Regions from separate parts of the Homo sapiens genome. Here regions 1 and 3 are each linked to region 2. Evidence: promoter capture Hi-C in 16 types of primary human blood cells and fetal thymus (Javierre and others, 2016). All regions are on one chromosome and are shown on one strand. Each heading gives the region's core, a stretch centred on a gene start or on the middle of the fragment in contact. The rest is flanking DNA. Distances are from core to core; before and after follow the strand shown. Region 1 overlaps LOC124904746 (a long non-coding RNA gene). Region 2 holds the start of KLK2 (kallikrein related peptidase 2). Region 3 overlaps MYH14 (myosin heavy chain 14).

Region 1 (3,472 bases), core at 286-2,785, 690 kb after region 2:
TAGGGTTCCTTTTATTTAGGTAAAATTTACAGACAGTTAAATGTACAATTGCTAAGTATACCATTCAATGAGTTTTGACAAACGTATACACCCAACTAGAAAAAAATAGAACATTTCCATGTCCTAGAAAGTTACCTGACACTCTCCCCAGCCAACTCGCACCTCCACCCACCCCCAGGCAACTAATGTTCTGCTTTTTATCACCACAGATTAGTTTTGTCTGTTCTAGAGCTTTTTATAAATAGAATCCTATAGTAGATGATCTTTTGTGTTTCTTTCACTCCACGTAAAGCTTTTGATATTCATCCATGTTGTTATATGAATCAGTCATTTCTCTCTTTATTTTTATTTATTATTATTATTTTTTTTTTGAGACGAGGTTTTGCTCTTGTTGCCCAAGCTGGAGTGCAGTGGCACAGTCTCGGCTCACCGCAACCTCCACCTCCCGGGTTCAAGCGATTCTCCTGCCTCAGCCTCCCAAGTAGCTGGGATTACAGGCGCCCACCACCACGCCCGGCTAATTTTTGTATTTTTGAGACGGAGTCTTTTTCTGTCGCCCAGGCTGGAGTGCAGTGGCATGATCTTGGCTCACAGCAAACTCCGCTTCCTGGGTTCAAGCGATTCTCCTGCCTCAGCCTCCGGAGTAGCAGGGATTACAGGCACGTGCCACCACGCCCGGCTAATTTTTGTATTTTTAGTAGAGACAGGGTTTCACCATGTTGGCAAGGCTGGTCTCGAACTCCTGACCTCAGGTGATCTGCCTGCCTCGGCTTCCCAAAGTGCTGGGATTACAGGCACGAGCCACCACGCCCAGCCGAGAGACCCCTATCTCTACAAAATTAAAAAAAAAAAATTGCCAGACATGGTGGCACACGCCTGTAACAAAAAGAAATCAGTAGGTGACCCAGGTCTTGGCTCAAGGATTGCTTGAGCCTGGGAGGTCAAGCCTGCAGTGGCTGTGACTGTGCCACCACACTCCAGCCTGGGCAACACAGTGAGACTCTGTCGGAAGGAAGGAAGGAAGGAAGGATGGAAGGAAGGAAAGAAGGAAGGAAGGAAGGAAGGGAAGGGAGGGGAGGGGAGGGGAAGGGAGGGGAGGGAAAGAAAGAGAAAGAGAGAGAGAAAGAAGGGAAGGAGGGAGGGAAGGAGGGGAAGGAGGAGGAAGGAAGGAAGGAAGGAAGGAAAGAAGGAAGGGAGGGAGGGAGGGAGGGAGGGAGGGAAAGGGTTCGTAGATTAGTCCACAGAAATGTTACCATGTTTATTTCATAATATTTTACTGTGGTTATGAAAAGTTTCAACCTTTGGAGAAGCTTGGGTGAAGAGTGAGAATTCTTTGCATTATTTTGTATGAGAATTCTTTGCATTATTTTTGCAACTTTTTTGTTAAGTCTGAAATTATTTCAAAATAAAAAGGTTTTCAAAAGCCATATATGGCAAAACCTTCACATGCATCATATTTCTTTAACCCTTTCAGCACCATTATCTCAATTTCACCAACACAGAAACAGACTTAGAGACAGATAAGTAAGGGGCAGAGCTGGGATTTGAACTCATGTGAGTCTGATTCCAGTGCTCACATTTTTAAAAATTCAACACAATTTTTTAAGCACCTACCGTATGCTGGGCACTGTGCTGTGAACTGAGAATACCCCCATAGACAAGCCAGAGTGTCTGTCCTCCTGGATCTCAACTTCTCATGGAAGAGACAATGAACAAGTAAACAATAAAATGTTTGACATAATGTCAGGCGGTGAAGCTTTTATTTATTTATTTATTTATTTTATTTTTATTTATTTTTATTTTTTAGATGGTGTCTCGCTCTGTCACCAGGCTAGAGTGCAGTGGCACGATCTCAGCTCACTGCAACCTCTGCCCCCCCACCCCGGGTTCAAGCGATTCTCCTGCCTCAGCTTCCCAAGTAGCTGGGACTACAGGTGCCTGCCACCACACTTGGCTGGTTTTTGTATTTTTAGTAGAGACGGGGTTTCACCATGTTGGTCAGGCTGGTCTCAAATCGCTGACCTCATGATCTGCCCCACTCGGCCTCCCAAAGTGCTGGGATTACAGGTGTGAGCCATCACGCTGGGCAGGCAGTGAAGCTTTTAAAAATGCTGAACAAGGCTGAGCGTAATGGCTCATGCCTGTAATCCCAGCACTTTGGGTGGCTAAGGCGGGCGGATCATTTGAGGTCAGGAGTTCGAGGCCAGCCTCTACTCCTGTCTCTACCGAGAATCAAAAAGTTAGCCGGGCATGGTAGCACATGCCTGTAGTCCCAACTACTCTGGAGGCTGAGGCAGGAGGATCGCATGAGCCCAGGAGTTCAAGGCTGCAGTGAGCTATGATTGCACCACTGCACTGCAGCGTGGGCAACAGAGAAAGACCCTGGAGGGTGGATCACCTGAGGTCAGGAGTTCGAGACCAGCCTGGCCAACATAGTGAAACCCCATCTCTACTACAAAACTACAAAAATTAGCCAGGTGTGGTGGCACATGCCCGTAATCCCAACTATTTGGGAGGCTGAGACAGGAGAATCACTTGAACCCAGGAGGCAGAGGTTGCAGTGAGCCAAGATCGCGCCACTGCACTGCAGCCTGGGTGACAGAGAGAGACCCTGTTTCAAAAAAAATACAACAAAACAAGGCAACAGGGGGATAGAGAGAACATAGTAAGGAGCTGAATACTGAGAATAGGAAACAAAAGTACAGTGAAGGTAGAAGTTTTAAACCTCTGCGCTTTGGCTACCTGCGTCCCTAATTTGGTGCCTCCAAGTCTGAACTCTTACCCATTAAGCTAAATTACCTCCCACAGATGCCGTAATTAATCAGCTCTTTCCTTGACTCAGGGCTGTTATTACAAACATGGGTCATTACACCTATGGTTATTGAGCAATACTCTCTAGATCAGGGATTCTCACAGTTTCATATGCTCTAAAAATGTGCGTTGGTAAAAGCCATCAAATGAGCTCTGTGTGAGAAAGAGTAACTTTACAGAGGAGAAACTGGGTAGACAGCATCTTAAGCATGGGATCAAAGTTAGTATCACCCGTTGTGGGACCTGCTGACATCAGAGACCTCTTGATGTCATGCATCAAGGACACAGCATCCCTCCCGCAGTTAATGTTGTGAGGGATCTTAAAATTCTGATTCAGCAGGTCCAGGGTGGGGTGGAGGTTCTGTATTTTTAATATAAACTCCAGGTGATGCTGATGCTGCTACTTCATGGACCACATTTTAAGCAGCAAAGCTGGAGCTGCTTAAACTTGAGCAAAGCTGAAACCACCTCTAGGACTTGGTAAAATCCAGATTGTATAGATTGCACGGTGGCTCGTGCCTGTAATCCCAGCACTTTGGGAGGCCAACGCAGGAGAATTGCTTGAGGCCAGGAGTTCAAGACCGGCCTGGGCAACATAGCAAGACCCTCATCTCTATTTTAAAAAAATTAAAATTAACCAGGTGTAGTGACATGCACCTGT
Region 2 (3,075 bases), core at 382-2,881:
GAGAAACCCAGGCAGCCATGGGGAGAGTGGTCCAGCCCCAGCTCTGCCTCCGGGTGCGACCTGGGCCAGGACCTTCCCTCTCTCCTTTAGTCTGAAGCCTCACCTGAGAAGTGACCCTGGGGGAAGCATCCCGCTGTTATTCCTGTGGGACACAGCCATTCCCTCCCCAGATCCCAGGGTCCTACTTACTTCTTTAGGCAATGGGCAGCTGTGAGCACCCACTGGGGGTGCACCAGGACACCCCCACAGTGTGCCCATCCATGACTGTACACAGCCACCTGCCAGGGTTGGGAATGCTTCTCACACTCCCAGCCTCCCACAATCCGAGACTGGATGAGGGGCACGGCACCTGCGGAGGGGGTGCTGGGTCAGGGGGATCAGACCCAAAAGAATTGGATAGGGGAGGGAGCTGAGCTGTGGGTTTGAAGAGACATGGGGGCAGAGGACCAGGACTGGGAGTCCAGGACACAAGCAAGGGGTCCTGGGAGGGCTGGCAATTCTGTAGCTATTCCCTGCGTTAGCGGGTTGGTGGCTGGACCAGGTCGGGAGGCTTCATGCTCTGAGAACGGAGCTGACCCCAGAGATCAGAGTAGGGGACATGGGAAACATCTGAAGCAGGCATCGGGTTGGGGGTTGGGTCATTTGGAGTGATTTGGGGTCTTACACTGGGAGAAGGGACACTGTGGTGGCAGCTGTGGGTTCTAAGAGAATAAGAGGTTCCAGAAACCAAGGATAAGTGCCCAGTGGAGAGGTTTAGTTGCTGGGAGAGGAAGGTTTTGGATGGTTTACCATGTCCAAGGTTAAGCAAACAGTTCTGCCTGAGTTGTTTCTTGCTTTGTTTTGTTTTGTTTTGTTTTTGAGGTTTTGAAAAGGGTGCGGATTTAGGGAATCAGAGAACTGGCCGTTGTGGTTGGGGGTGCTCGTGTTTTTCCCATGGAAAAAGCTAGCCATTGAATGACGGGTCTGGGGCAAAGAGTCAGGGAAGGAGGAGTTCTGAAAGTCCCAGTGCCAGACTCAGGGTGGGAGGCAGCATTTGTTGTCTCAGGCCAGATAGCCTCGGGGGGAAGAAGGAAGTGTCTGGTGGAATCTGGGTTTCCTGGGACAGGGTTGGGGAGCCAGGTGTCAAGGTCCAGGGGACAGGGTTGAATGCTCACAGCTGAATAGGAAAAGTCAGTAGACTGTGGTAGGACTGAGGGGCTCAGGAGGCAGCCCAGTGATAGGGTCCAAGGAACCAGTGGCATGGAGAGAGGTCCTTGAAAGGTTTTGAACCCCATAAAGAGAAACACAGAGATGCCCAGGAACTTGCTCTTTAGTAAAGCAGCTGGGAGCAGGGATTTGGCTGGGCAATGGAGAGAAAGGTCTGAGGTAAGTGGGAGGGAGCGGGGACCTAGTGTGGGCATGAGGACTATTGCAATGTGGAAGAGTCAGGGGCACATTGTCTGGGCTGAACTGTGGGCTGAAGGGACGAGGCTGGGGCACTGGGTGGGAGGAAAAGGGCTTCAGCATAAGAGTCAGAACCCGCCCCCCTTCCTTTATCCCCCCAATCTCACCAGTGCACCCCACAGACAAGGCGATGGAGAGAACCAGGTCCCACATGCTGACACAGGTGTCCACGGCCAGGTGGTGAGTTTGGGGCTGGGGGGCCTCCCTGAGGAGCCCTATAAAGCCTTCATTCTCCAGGACCCCGCCCTTGCCCTGTTGGCACCTAGATGCTGACCAAGGCCCTCCCCATGCTGCTGGAGGCTGGACAACCCCCTCCCACACCCAGAGCTGTGGAAGGGGAGGGAGAGCCAGCACTTGCTGTTCCACACATACTAGATCAGTCTGGAGGCATTCCCACGGTGTGAGGTCAGATTGGGCAGGGCCTATGGATCATGGAGATGTGATCTAGGGAACAAAGCCAGAGAAGGCAGGCTCAGGATGAACAGCAACAGGGGTTGGGATGATCACTGATTCTTTTTTAAAAAAATTCTGAGACAGTCTCACTCTGTTTCCCAGGCTGGAGTGCAGCGGCGTGATCGCAGCTCCCTGTAGCCTTGAACTCCCAGACTCAACCGATTCTCCTGTCTCAGCCTCCAGGATAGCTGAGACCACAAGCATGCACCACCACATCCAGCTAATTTTTAATTTTTTTGTAGAGAGAGGGTCTGGCTATGTTGCCTAGGCTGGTCTCCAACTCCTGGGCTCAAGCCATCCTCCCACTTCGGTCTCCCAAAGTGATGAGATTACAGGCGTGAGCCACCACGGCCAGCCCCAATCATTGATTTTCAATACAAAGTCTCATGTGCCTAAGTCCCAAGTACTTCCTTTGCACCCCAAACCTAATATGCCCTGAAATATCAGAATGATCGGATTGTGAGACTTCCTGGTCCCTATACCCGTCTGAGCCCAGAAGCTGGACCTCCAACTTACCATGTTCCTGAAATAGAAGCGTTGGCATTCAGTACTCTCTGATTCTTGCACTTCCACACTCAGAAAATGGTTCCCCACATACATTTCTCCCTCATCATAAAACCTTGTGATACCACATATTGTCCAATCCAGAAATATGACTCTCCCAGACCAAGTTCCCTATTATTTCAAAATCCAATGTCCACTAAACAATATGGGGTTCCGGTGGCTCCTCACTCCTCATTCTCCATGCCTGTACAACGTACAGGTACAGCGGGGATTCCTGTTGACCTGCCCTCCTAGGTCAGAATTGTCCTCATGCAAAATCCAATGCCTCCTTCTCACTGAAATGTCTAGCTATCAGGAGCCAGGTTTATACACTCCAAGATTAAGCTGCAAGCCAGGCACGGTGAGTGGCTCATGCCAGCAATCCCAGTGCTTTGGGAGTCCAAGGCTGAAGAATCACTTGAAGTCAGAAGTTCAAGATCAGCCAGGGCAACAAAGTGAGACCCTTTCTCTACAAAAAAAAAAAAAAAATTTAATTAGCCAGGTGTGGTGGCAAGCACCTGTAGCCCCATCTACTCAGGAGGCTGAAGCAGGAGGATCCCTTAAGTCCAGGAGGTCAAGGGTTCAGTGAGCTATGATCACACCACTGCGCTCCAGCCTGAGTGACAGAGCAAAAGA
Region 3 (3,218 bases), core at 385-2,884, 590 kb after region 2:
GAGAATTGCTTGAACCCGGGAAGCAGAAGTTGCAGCAAGCCAAGATCACGCCACTGCACTCCAGCCTGGGCAAAAAAAAAAAAAAAAAGAAGAAGAAGAAGAAAAAGAAGGAGGAGAAGAAGAAGAAGAAAAATGACTTTCAATAGATATGCAAAAACAAGTCAGTGGAGAGCAGTGTTGGAATACTTGGATATTTATATTCACAAAAATTAACATGGAGCCATGATAGCATCATATGTAAAAATTAACTCAGAATAAATCACAGACCTAAATGTAAACTTGAAACTGGAAGACTTCCAGAAAAAAAAAACAGGATAGGCCGGGTGCAGTGGCTCATGCCTGTAATCCCAGTGCTTTGGGAGGCCGAGGCAGGTGGATCACAAGGTCAGGAGTTTGAGACTAGCCTGGCCAACATAGTGAAACCCTGTCTTTACTAAAAATAAAAAATAAAAAAAAAATAAAAATAAAAAAATTAGCCGGGTGTGGCGGCATGTGCCTGTAATCCCAGCTACTTGGTAGGCTGAGACAGGAGGAATCGCTTGACCCCAGGAGGCAGAGGTTGCAGTAAGCCAAGATCATGCCACTGCACTCCAGCCCGGGCAACAGTGCAAGACTCCGTCTCAAAAAACAAAACAAACAAACAAACAAAAAGAAAACAAGAAAAAAACCAGGATAAAACCTTTGTGACCTTGAGTTAGGCAAAAATTTCTTATATACAATACTAAAAGCACAATCTATAAAACAACAAATTGATAAATTGGACAAAATTAAAAACTTCTGTTCTTTGAAAGACTCTAACAGAATGGAAAGAAAAGCCACAGACTGGACAAAAATATTTGCAAAGCATATATCTGATAAAGAACTTGCATTTAGAATACATAAATAACTTCTTTCTTTTTTTTTGTTTTTTTTTTGTTTTTTGTTTTGTTTTTTTGAGACAGAGTTTCACTCTTGTTGCCCAGGCTGGAGTGCAATGGCATGATCTCGGCTCACCACAACCTCCGCCTCCCAGATTCAAGCGATTCTCCTGCCTCAGCCTCCCAAGTAGCTGGGATTACAGGCATGCACCACCATGCCTACCTAATTTTGTATTTTTAGTAGAGACGGGGTTTCTCCATGTTGGTCAGGCTGGTCTCAAACTCCCAACCTCAGGTGATCTGCCTGCCTTGGCCTCCCAAAGTGCTGGGATTACCAGGCATGAGCCACCGTGCCCGGCCCATAAAGAATTTTCAAAATTCAATAATAGTAAAACAAACAACATTAATTAACAAATAGGCAAAAGATCTGAACAGAAGCTTCAGCAAATAAGATATATGGATGGCAAATAAGCATATGAAAAGATGCTCAACGTCACTGGTCATTAGGGAAATGTTAATTAAAACCACCTTTGAGAAAGACTAAGGTTTTATCCATAACTAGAAAAAAACTGGAAAAAAACCCAAATGTTCATCAAAAGGTTAATGAATATCAAAATGTGGCTGATCTATACCACAGGAATAATATTCAGCAGCAAAAATACATTATTGATACATGGAATACATTATTGATATGCAAAAATATGGATGGATCTCAGACTAATTATTTTGAGGCTGGGTGCGGTAGCTTACTCCTATAATCCCAGCACTTCGGGAGGCCGAGGTGGGTGGATCACTTGAAGCCAGGAGTTCGAGACCAGCCTTGCCAAAATGGTGAAACCTCGTCTCTATTAAAAACACAAAAATTAGCCAGGCATGGTGGTGCACACCTGTAATCCCAGCTACTTGGGAGGCTGAGGCACGAGAATCGCTTGAACCTGAGAGGTGGAGGTTGCAGTGAGCTGAGATCGTGCCACTGCACTCTAGCCTTGGTGACACAGCGAGACTCTGTCTCAAAAAAAAAAAATTATTTTGAGTAAAATAAGCCCATCCCAAAAGAGATTTATGTGAAAATAATTTATATAAAATTCCAGAAGATGCCAAAAATAATAAAGCTTCAATGACCTGTGGAAGAGTATTACAATCAAATCATATGTATTTGGAGTCCAAGAAGAAGGGGAAGGAGAGAGAGTGGGAGATAAAAATATTTGAAGAAATAATGGCTGAAATGTTCCACATTTGATCAAAAACATCAACCCACAGCTACAGGAAGCACAGTGAATCTAAAGCAGGATAAATACAAAAAACCCACAGCTGGGCATATCACAGTCAAACCACTAAGAACCAAACATAAAGAGAGAAATCGTAAGTCAGCTAGAAAAACATACTGCACCACCTACAGGGAAATGACAATTTAAAAAAATTTTTTTTAATTTTTTATTTTTTTTTTGAGATGGAGTCTTGCTCTATCACCCAGGCCGGAGTGCAGTGGCACGATCTTGGCTCACTGCAACCTCCGCCTTTCCAGTTCAAGTGATTCTCCTGCCTCAGCCTCCCGAGTAGCTAGGATTACAGGCGCACACCGCCATGCCCAGCTAATTTTTTTGTATTTTAGTAGAGACGGGGTTTCACCGTGTTGCCCATGCTGGTTGTGAACTCCTGAGCTCAGGCAATCCGCCCGCCTTGGCCTCCCAAAGTGCTGGGATTACAGGCATGAGCCACAGTGCCCAGCTTCACACTGCATTTTCTAAATGAATAAAATAAAGCACAGAGAGGTTGAGCAATTTGCCCAAGCCACACAGCCATCAAGAGGCCGAATTGGGATCTGAACCTCAGGATTGCCTGATCTGAACTCTCTAAGGTTCTGTGATTTTTATTTCATCCTCAGGCTGCCAGATGCTTGGTATTATTGCCATTTTCCAGATGGGCGAACTGAAGCTGAGATGGAAAAAGCAACTTGCCTGAGGTACCCCGTGAATCAGCAGAAGTGAGATGAGTTATTTGATTTAATTCTCATAAGCAATCTCTGGGGTACTGAAGGTATTCGTATATTTTGTCATCCAAAAACCAGGGCAGCTCTGAAAGTAAAAGTGGGTGCTACGAGGAATTATGCTGTGGCAAGAGGCATGAATCAGGACAGAGGGATGTCCTATTTTACAGAGGCCCAGAGCAAAGAAGGGTCTTGCTTCCTGGTCCACTACAACTGCCTAGTTGAGCCGTGACAGCACGGATTACTGGTTCCTCACAACGACCATGGGAAGCGTAGATGGACTTGCTGATTCCCCGGCTGGGTGAACTGAGGTGCCCCACCTGGTCAAACTTGCGCTGCTTCTTCTCCAGGGTGCTCACAAGCTGCCGCTGCTG

What was found. The method cuts DNA at HindIII sites, captures the fragments that hold promoters and counts their contacts. A CHiCAGO score of 5 or more calls a contact.
Region 1: a contact is called between a fragment that was not itself captured here and the fragment with the promoter of KLK2 in region 2, in 4 of 17 cell types (total B cells, naive CD4 T cells, monocytes and 1 more). The highest score is 8.5, in total B cells.
Region 3: a contact is called between a fragment that was not itself captured here and the fragment with the promoter of KLK2 in region 2, in 7 of 17 cell types (total CD8 T cells, naive B cells, non-activated CD4 T cells and 4 more). The highest score is 7.6, in total CD8 T cells.

The regions. Positions count from the first base shown.
Region 1 is chr19:50,180,737-50,184,208 of GRCh38, reverse strand. All of the region lies in intron 1 of LOC124904746 (a long non-coding RNA gene), which reads left to right. Among named protein-coding and RNA genes, the nearest start is that of IZUMO2, 19 kb to the right of the region's middle. The HindIII fragment of the contact is 446 bases long and covers 1,313-1,758 here.
Region 2 is chr19:50,871,995-50,875,069 of GRCh38, reverse strand. KLK2 (kallikrein related peptidase 2) reads right to left here and starts at 1,631. Exons shown (of 5, transcript NM_005551.5): 1 at 1,551-1,631; 2 at 190-349. The coding sequence starts at 1,596. RefSeq lists a cis regulatory region at 1,793-1,807, an enhancer at 1,793-1,807 and promoters at 1,606-1,959, 1,606-2,231, 1,606-3,075. The HindIII fragment of the contact is 10,018 bases long and covers 1-3,075 here.
Region 3 is chr19:50,281,789-50,285,006 of GRCh38, reverse strand. MYH14 (myosin heavy chain 14) reads right to left here. Exons shown (of 43, transcript NM_001145809.2): 33 at 3,165-3,218. Among named protein-coding and RNA genes, the nearest start is that of KCNC3, 46 kb to the left of the region's middle. The HindIII fragment of the contact is 674 bases long and covers 1,298-1,971 here.